2 separate regions of the Homo sapiens genome follow, and region 2 is linked to region 1. Evidence: promoter capture Hi-C in 16 types of primary human blood cells and fetal thymus (Javierre and others, 2016). All regions are on one chromosome and are shown on one strand. The core of a region is centred on a gene start or on the middle of the fragment in contact, and the rest is flanking DNA. Distances in the headings are between cores, read along the strand shown. Region 1 holds the start of CPEB4 (cytoplasmic polyadenylation element binding protein 4). Region 2 holds the start of FGF18 (fibroblast growth factor 18).

Evidence for each region. Contacts are between HindIII fragments. The CHiCAGO score rates a contact against its expected background, and 5 or more counts as called.
Region 2: a contact is called between the fragment with the promoter of FGF18 here and the fragment with the promoter of CPEB4 in region 1, in 1 of 17 cell types (naive CD8 T cells). The highest score is 5.7, in naive CD8 T cells.

What each region holds. Positions count from the first base shown.
Region 1 is chr5:173,886,208-173,890,829 of GRCh38, reverse strand. It overlaps CPEB4 (cytoplasmic polyadenylation element binding protein 4), which reads right to left and starts at 2,481. Exons shown (of 10, transcript NM_030627.4): 1 at 1-2,481. The coding sequence starts at 1,096. RefSeq lists a silencer at 1-204 and enhancers at 1-208, 209-710, 2,735-2,974. The HindIII fragment of the contact is 9,803 bases long and covers 1-4,622 here.
Region 2 is chr5:171,417,027-171,421,648 of GRCh38, reverse strand. FGF18 (fibroblast growth factor 18) reads right to left here and starts at 2,002. Exons shown (of 5, transcript NM_003862.3): 1 at 1,418-2,002; 2 at 1,206-1,242. The coding sequence starts at 1,449. RefSeq lists silencers at 1,496-1,575, 1,636-1,685, 1,826-1,935, 2,056-2,165. The HindIII fragment of the contact is 2,658 bases long and covers 780-3,437 here.

The sequences.
Region 1 (4,622 bases), core at 1,232-3,731:
TCAAGCTATCTTCCATCCAGGATTTAGGTGCAAAGGCAGAGCTGGGGCGAGCATACTTCTGGAGCTGAATATGATTGCTTGCAAAATTTTTCTTCAAAGGCGAGATGGAGTTCAGGGGCGTTATTCCACCATTCAGCCCTCTGCGGTGATCTCGGCCTTGGGAACCTCCCCAGCCACCATATCCACCACCGCCCGGGCTCCAGGAAGAGGAGGGTGTTGGTGACGGACTCTGGTAGCTGCTCCACGGAGAGGGGGGTTTGTTAAGATTATTCGCCAAATGAGGCAGCTGGTTAAAAGCAGCATTTCTATGTGTGAAGGGTGGGGGATGGGGACTGGCAGGAGACCTCCTTTGCTGCTGATGCTGGCTGTGATGATGCTGGAAATGAGGGTGATGTGGGTGGTGCTGTGAGAGAGGCCCGATCTGAGGAGAGAAGCTGCCTCCAAAGCCAGGGCTGACATGATGGGGGAAATTTTGAAACAACAGAGCACCGTTATTAGCCGAAGCAGCAGGGACCCCTCCCTGGTGAAAGAAACTTGCATCTTCATTGATTATTGTAGAGGAGGAAGGCGCTATCGCTGCTGACCAGTTACTGAAACCAGTAAGAGACGATGCGCTAGATGTCAAGGGTTGGGTTGAAGTACCTAGCCCAGTGGCTTCTTGATAATCAAACCCTGTCAACACTGGAGATTCGATCCTTATTTTCTCCTTCCCATTGCCATTTTCCGAAGAATTGTCCCCTTGATTTTCTTCTGATTTTGCCTTCTCTGTTTCAGGCAGTATTCCAGCTTCCTGACCTGGACTTGGGGAAAGCTGCTGCTTTTCTAAGGGGTCTTGCTGTTCCTGTTGCTGACTTTTTGCTTTTTCTGACCCCAAGATCTCATCCTGAATGTTATGGGTAGCTGGAGCAGGAAAAAGCCAAGCTGACCCAGCACTGCTGCCATTGGCAGCTGTGTTATTATTTATAAAAGCAGCAGGGCTGGGGGTGGCATTTTGGTGATGGTGTGGAGGCTGCAGATGTGGATGGAATCTGACTGGAAAAGCAGATTTATTCCCAGTATTGCTTTGCACTAGCACTCCAAACCCGTAATCCCCCATTTATTATCTTTAGGAGCAGAATCTCACAATAAAAAATGACAACCTGATGTCTCACGCCTTTTTTTTCCTCTACCCCAAATTTAAGTTGTTTGCTTGCTTGCTTGAAATGTCTTATTTATAGCTAGCTCAAAGATCGCAGCTTATCACCTTAAATTGTTCTGATTTGGAATTCTGGTCTCTGAAAGAAAAAACAACTCTTAAAAAAATCTCTTAAAACATTGACTTGGATCCAATTGGGCTTATTTTTAGGAGGGAATAAAAATGAAGAGGGTAAAAATCAAGTCTTTGGTTAGTAAAATAGGCGCTTTCTTTTTCCAAAGGAAAATGTACATGAATGACAAAAACAGAGCTTCTCAAGCATCTATGGATGTAGAAGAATAAGCCTTGCGCGGAGTAAAAATATAGATATATATAATTTAACAATCACATATGGTTTTCCTCAGCAGTTTAGATTCACTCACATAAAAATTAGAATAGGACTAAGAGGGGAATACGTTCTTTTCTTGGCAGCTTGGTTAAAAAAAAATCAGGAATAATTTAAGAACATTATATATTATATATTTATATATATAGATTATATTAGGTTATCTGGGGTGGGAAGTGAATTCCTGGTTTCGGGAGAGGAAATCAGCATTGACTAATGGAAAGATGATTGCAGGGAGGTTTCTGCTGTTCCTGGTCCTGTTTTCTGCTCTTTCGCAGGGTGCAGTTTTGGCCTCTGGGGCTGTTCCTGAGGCTCCGGGTGCAGATCTTGCTGCGGTCGCTGTTCCTGGGCTCCCCGCGGCTTCCTCTCCCCCATGAAAGGGGTTGGAAACACCCGTTTCTCCCTCTTGCGGGGGTCGCGATCAGGAGGGATTAGCGAGACTCGACGAGGGTGAGCGGGCGGCCTGGGGGTGCGGGGACCGAGGGGGCGACCTGGAAGGTCCTGCGGTTTCTGCCTCTTCCCCTCTCTGCGGCTCCGGGGTTTTTTTCCCTCATGGGACCCAGGGGCGGTTTGTTCAGTTCCCTCAGTTCGATTCTCCGCAGAGAGGGAAAAAAGAGGAAAAAAAGGAAAAACCCACTACCGTAGTTATTTTAAAGGAGAAGGGCCTCCCCCCTCGGCTTTCTCTCTCTTTTCCCCCAGAATTTTTTTTTAAACTATAATTTAGAAGGCTTTTGTTTCTCCTCACGGTTGCTGGGCCGTCGCCGCCGTCGCCGCTTTACCCTGGTCCCGCAGTCCCCGCTGTCGTTGTTGAGGACTCCTCCTGGTTCTTCTTTTTCTTTCCTTCTTCCTCCTCTTCCTCCTCTGCTGTCGCCGCTGCTGCCGCCGCCGCCGCCGCCACCGCCTCCCGGTGCCCGGGTCCCGCAGCCGCGGCTGAGTCCTTCTCCTCAGGACCGAGCCGAGTGAAATGACAACCAGCTGGAAAGACCCAGAGACACTTCCGGTTCGAAGAGGGAGGGGTGGGGGTAGCACTCATTCCCCACCTACCTGCCGGAAGACCAATCATCTGTTAGAACTCAGGCGAGGCCACGCCCCCTCGCTTCAGAGCTACTCCCAGGAAGGTCGAAAAGTTACCTCCAGAGACGCCTCTTCCGTCTGCGCCTCGCCTAGTGAGGCCCGGCGCCTGGAACCCGCTTCCCCCACCCAGAGTGAGCGCAGCAGGTCGCCATCTTTTGTGTGGGCAAGGGACTCCTTTGATATTTCTCTTCCCTAACTGGGCTTTGCAGGAGGAGCAATAGGGACGTGTCAAGGAGAACGGATTCCTCGCTCACGAAGGCATACGGTCAAGGTGTTGGAGATCGAAGTGGCGGCCCGTGAAACCGCGGATGAATGAGAAGGGTGCCCACAGTAAAGGTGGTGCTCCAAGCATCACGTGCTCTGGCCCGAGCTCCGCCCCAGAGGGATCTGGAAGGGGAGGCGGGTCTTGCCAGCAGCTGTGCGGTGCCTAGAACTGCGTTTGCCCTTGCCCAGAATGTAGACCTCACGAGGGACTCTCCCTTAACCTTCCATTCGCTCACCCGCACCTCCCACTCTCCCATTCTGCTAGGCTCGCATCTGGTGCAGTCTCCCAGGTGCAGAGATGCAGCTGAGGCGTCTGTGGCTATGCCCCCGTATCATCCCGATCTAGTACACCTTACACGCAATACCAGAGGGAAAATTCCAAAACTAAAATTTTATCTTGACCCTCACATGCTCCGATTTCTTCTATGGTTGCCCATTATTTCGAAGATAAAGGCCAAACTTGTTAGTCTGGTATTCAAGCCTTTCTACCTAATGGGTGGTATATCTTAGTGCCTCTTCCCCCTCCAAACACACTCTCAATGCCTTTTTACATGTCCTTTCCACTCTTCTCCTTTGGTAAATTCCTATTTATTTCTAGGAATCAGTTCAAAAGCCACCAACAGCATCTTCTGAATTCTCTCTTATAAGCGTCCACGGCCCTGTGTACCTCTCGTGCTTGTTTCTCACACTATATTGTGATGGTTTATGTCTTCCAGACCTGTGCTGGACCGTGGGCTCTTTCAGGAGCAGACATTGTAGATAGGAGACATCAGTGAATGAATCCTGAAAACGTGAATGAACAAACCAGCAACAATGAAGTCTTCCCTGAGTGACAGCCCCCCAACCCACTGCCACCCCTTCCACCCGTCACCCACCCCCCACCCCTCACTCCTGTTTCCAAGTCTGAATTAATTATTTCCTTCCTTTTGCCATTTGGTTTGGAGCTCACATATCAGACTTTTCATTATGTTTGGTACTCAAGGGCTTTAATGTCCTGTTTATCTTTGTACATTCCCAACGCTATGACCACCATCAGGGCTTAGGATAATGCTTTGCTCTCAGCACAGCTTTAAATATGTTAAATAAGTGAGTATTTTCCTTTAGCAGGAAGAAAAATGAACAAAGAAATCAGGGTAGAGCCAGAAGTAACTGGCACAACTAGAGGGAAAAAAAAGATACCAAGATTAATGAAAAATAGTATGAACAAAGGTGGCTTCCATTTCATTTCCATAGCCTTCCTCTAATGGTCTCAACTTCTGCCTCAGTCTGTCAATCCTCCATCACTTCCGTGTAGAACACCTGAGGGCCTTCAATCGGTGATTTTATTCTCTTTCATTGTGCCATGAGCATGAGTCTTGTCTCTGTAACTCTACTATGGATTCTTTGAGCATAGAGATTGGGTCTTACCTGCTGTTTATTCCCTACAACTGGACATGCCTGGAAACTTAGCTGGTTCCGTCAGGTGTCTTTTCCGCCAGAATGGTTTCCTTGACTGGCCCTCTCTCTAATGTCTTGTAGATTGCTCTCTTTTAATTACTGCTGGTTGTCAGTGGGTTAGTTTCTTAAGGGCAGAGGTTGTGTCTGATTTATCTTTATGTCCCCAGTGGCCAGAAGAGGGTCTGGCACAGAGCAGACTCAAAACTCAGAACACATTTATTGAATGAACAAATGAATGTTCCATGCCCAGAAGATGGTTTAGGGTCCCTCAGAGCTACTAATTATCAGTGGCTAAAATGGCAGCCATGACTTGGAAAAAAGAGCACC
Region 2 (4,622 bases), core at 753-3,252, 2.5 Mb after region 1:
CACCGCCAAACACTGCGAGTGGCTGTTGAGTCGCGCAGTGCTCAAGGCACACAACACTCCTTGAGCCAGAAAACCGGGAGAACCACCAATTTCCTGTGCTCAAGGCTAGCTCTGGGGATCTCCACAATCCAGAAGGCTAAGGTCTAAGAATCTTCTCTAATCCCGGAAAGCCACCTGCCTTCCACCGAGGGGGAAGGGTCAGACAACCCTCTTTTGACCTGTGTCCAGTTCCTCCTGGCCTGGCCCCTTGCAGCACTAGGTGGGTGGGGGCTTGGGGAGCTGACGCTTCCTATTCCCTTTGCCCGCCGCCCCCCGACCCCCACCATGCAGAGGCAGCCCTGGTCTGGTTCTAATCGGGGCTGAAGTCGGCTCCCTTTTTCGCTCTTCTCTCTCCCTCCCCCCAACCCTTTTTCCTTCATTTCTACGGCTTTGGAAGCCAGAGCGTTCCAACTGTCTGCGTGCCAAGACCTTCCCGAGTCTGAAAGCTGCTGAAGTAACAGATCAGATTTTAGCAAGTGCTTTCCAGGCCGAGCGCCAAGCCCTCTTCTGATTCACGGAGAGCGAGCGAACCGGGAGCAGGCGGGGAACCAACGAGGGCTGCACCACCTTAGGCGAGGGAGTGCGGAGCGCGGCCCATCCGGGAGCGGCCTCGCGGGCAGCGGCCACTCGGCCTAGGCGCCCTCGAGCTTCCCCTCGTCCCGGGCATGTGTGTGTGTCTGTGTGTGTGTCTCAGTGCTGCAAGCGCCTTCAAAACCACAGAGTAATTTACAACTGAAGCTTTCTCCCTGGACTCGAAATCCACTCGGCTGAAAGTCTTTTTGTTTGGAAGCGGCGATGTTAAGGGAAGGTTGGCAGAGAAAATCCCTAGGTCCTACCCCTCGCTGGCTGCGGGCAGGGGTCTTAGAGCTGGGTATATTGTTGCGGCTGAGCCCGCCGGCTCTGCGGGATCTCCTCCCAGCCGAGGCCGACAGTGGCCGCGACAGCCAGCGCCTCCTCGGGCCCCGCGGCAGAGCCCCTTGCCCTTGGCCGGTTCCCCGCCGGCGCAGGGCGCACGCGGAGCCGCCCTTCCGCGCCCTGGGAACAGGTGCACTGGGCTCAGCGCCCAGGAGGGGTGGGGCACAGGGAGGGGGCGCGGCCGGGGAAGGGGGGTCGGCGTGTACCGCGAGGCAGGGGCGGGAGGAGGTCAAAGTCAGGAGCCCACGTACCTGTACCTGGAAGCACAGCAGCAGGAAGTGTAAACACCTGCGGGAAACAGATGGAGAAGCGGTCAGTGGGACCTGAGGAAGGGGGCGCACGGACAGACAGACACGCAGTCGAAGAGTCAGGTGAACCGACGGGCGGGCAGACAGAGGTACAGGGCACAGGCATACGGACAGACAGCCAGGCAAGGTGGGCAGCCCCGCGCGCGGGCGCTTACAGGCAAGTGCAGGCGGAGGGCGCTGAATACATCGCTGGGCGGGAGGGAGGCGGCGGCTCCTAGCCCAGCCTGCACATGTCCGCTCCGCGCGGCCGGGACCGGGCGCCTCCGCCGCCGCCGCCGCCGCCGCCGCCGCTGCTGCTGCTCCCTCCTCGCCGGCTGCTGCTGCTGCAGACTCTGCTGCTCCGGGGCGCTCCGCGGCGCGCCCTGCGGCATCAGCGCCCCGCGCGGCTCCTCCCGAGCGCTGCGCCCTCCGGGCTGGCGCAGGGGCTGCGGGGCGGCAGCCGCTGTGCAGGAGGCGCCTGGCCGGTGCGGGGAAGCTCGCTCACTGCTGGCCGGCCGGCCGTCCGGGCGTCCGTGGGAGGCTGGCTGCCCGGCTCAGTCCGGGGACAGCATGCGCGGCGGGTCTGGAAGCCGAGTTGCGCTCTCCGGCCCGGGCGCGGAGCTGCGTGGGGCCAGGGGTCAGCGCTCCGGGGTCGGGGCGCGCGGCTGCAGCGCGAAAGCGTCACGGCCGCTCCGTCTGGGCGCCCGCCGGCTCATGTCTCCTCCTCCGCGTCTCTCCGGCCGTGCGCATCGCCGCCTCCCACCACTGGCGGCGGCCGGGGCGTTTTCTACGCGCGGGCGGCGAGGGGGCGGGGGGCCGGGGGCGGGCCCGGGCCCGAGCCGGCACAATGAGGATGCGGGGCCTGGGGGCTCCCCCCTCGGGGCGCGGCCGGACGGGCGCTCAGCTCGCCTGGGTGCGCCCAGCCCACATCAAAGGCGGCCCTGCCTGCTCGCCTGCCTGCCGCGGCCTCTCGCTGCCTCCTCCTCCTTCTCCTGGCGGCTCGGGGTTGGAGGGGAGGCGCTCAGACTCTCGGAGACGGGACCGGCAGCTCCAAAGGGGCAGGACCCGCGAGACTGAAGCTGGTGAGCGCTGGAAGCCGTCGGAGCTCTGCGCCCGAGCGCAGTGACCGCTCCTCCGCGCAAACGTTGCCCAAATTGGGCAGGCGATGCTCCCCAAGAACGCAGTTAGGTACGGAACGTCCTCACCTGCCCACATTCGCTACTCGCACTCACTCACCAGCGCTCTAGTGGAGAGCCGAGAGGGGCGGGTCAAACCCAGCCCCGGGGCGGCTCCACTGAATGGGGGTCGCTTTTACCCGCCCTGCGATCGTGGAGTTTCCCAGCCACCCTCTTGACTGGCTACCCACTTAAGTGAGCCCCCGTCCTCTTCTTACGTCCCTGCCGCTGCGAAGGGGGCTCCCGGGCATCTCTCCTTCCCACCCCTCGCCCCCTCCGGGGCTCTGGGGTCGGTTCACGGGATCCCAGCTGGACTCTCCCGTAGGCGAGCCAGCTTTGGAAACACACGGCTACCACCAAGCGGCCCCGAGACGTCACTGCAACCCCAGCACGGACGGCTGCACGCCGGGGAGCAGCCAGCAGGACTCTGGTCAGCGACCACGCTGAGGCCCTCTTCCGGCCTCCTCCCAAAACCGGACTAAGACTTGCCTCCGTTTGCATACTAGGCAGCTTCGTTCCTTTAACCAGGGCCCCATTCAGGACACTGGTTCTTACCGCCTCTGCCCCTTCCAGAGGCATAACTCCTGTCCTTCCCACCAACCCCAAAACGTAGGTGTTCTTGTCACGTACCTGCCTCACTGTCTAGAGCTGGTGTCAGCCAAGCTCTGCTTGAGCCTGATGCTAAGGAAAATAGGTCACAGTGAGAAAGACGCTGGAGGACAGGCTCAAGCAAAACTCAGGAATCTGGACTATTTGGTTAAAGCCTCCTTGCGTTGGCAATGGTTGATGGTCCACTGGAGCATAAACTGAGGTAGGACTGTCGAACAGTGCTATTTGCTGAAGCCATGACTATAAAACATTAGTAATTGTTCCAAATATCAGGCCTCCTTGCAAGCTATTTTAAGTTCCCTTTCAAAGCTGAGGCTATTTTAAACAGATAGCCTCTGTTTCAACATCGGACACAAGTGCAGAAAACCTTTTCAAAACCAGGTGCTGAGGGGGAAAATTCCTGCATGAAGCTTTTAAGCTGAATTTACTTAGACATTCTGATTGCCAGAGCTGGACTTGCAGAGTTACTCGTAACTTCCCAAGTTCTGGAGAAAATGAATCGATCCCAAGATAGGATGCAATGACCAACCATAAATAGAAATGGACAGAAATGCTCCCACCGATGACCCGAGTCATTGCCGCCGTCTTTGATCTTGCTTTATAGGAAGATTGACAAACCCAGTCGAGGAGTTTTTGGCTTACCATCTGCTAGTTTGAAGTATCTCCTGGCTAAGAATCATGCTTCCAATTTTCTATATTGTTACTATTTTTTATTACTTGTGAATGGAATGGGTATATAATTATTTATACCCTATCTAAAATGCTTGCAGTATTTTTCAATGCTCAAAGTATATTTGCCAATCTCACCTACCAAACAAATCAGACTGACCAAAAAGTCCAGCCAAGAGAACAGTTCTGAGTAAGAGCATAAACTCAGGAGTCAGAAGTACTGCATTTGAATACTGCCACCAACATTTACTTATAAATTCCAGCAAGCAACGGTTTGAGATTCTGCTTCCTCCTCTACAAAATATGGCTAAGAACAGTAACAACTCTCACAGAGTTGTGAGTACTCAATGAGTGTCTGGCACACAATGAAAACTCCAAACGTTTTAGCTGCTAACTAATAATCCTAATTATTATTCAGGTTACTTTCAGGTTATTTTCACATTTCTTTCTGAACAATTTCATGAAGTAGGGAGGCAGGATCATTTCCAATTTACAGTTGAAGAGGCATCTAGTCAGAATGTCTTTTGACTCCAAATCCATTTTATACTACACATTCTTTTCCCCACCACTCACACCCTCTAGTTTCATGCACCTATTTACCAACATGACCTATTTACCATATGCCTGAATCTTAAATGGGTTCTATCTGGATTTGGCATGTTCATACAACACTTAATATATACCACTATTTTAGTAGTCACTTCTTACTAATTCAATCACAATTTATTGAGATCCTACAGTGTCGAGCCCTCACTGAAAGACAGGCAAGGTCCCTGCACTAAAAAAGCACTTCGTTTCCACTAGGGAAGATGGGCAATAAGCAAATACACCAAGAGATAAATGCTGGCTTGTTACCAGTGTTTTGAGAGAAACCAGTGGGATAGAGAAGCCAGAAGACCTCTTGGTAACATTAAGGCCAAGACCCAAA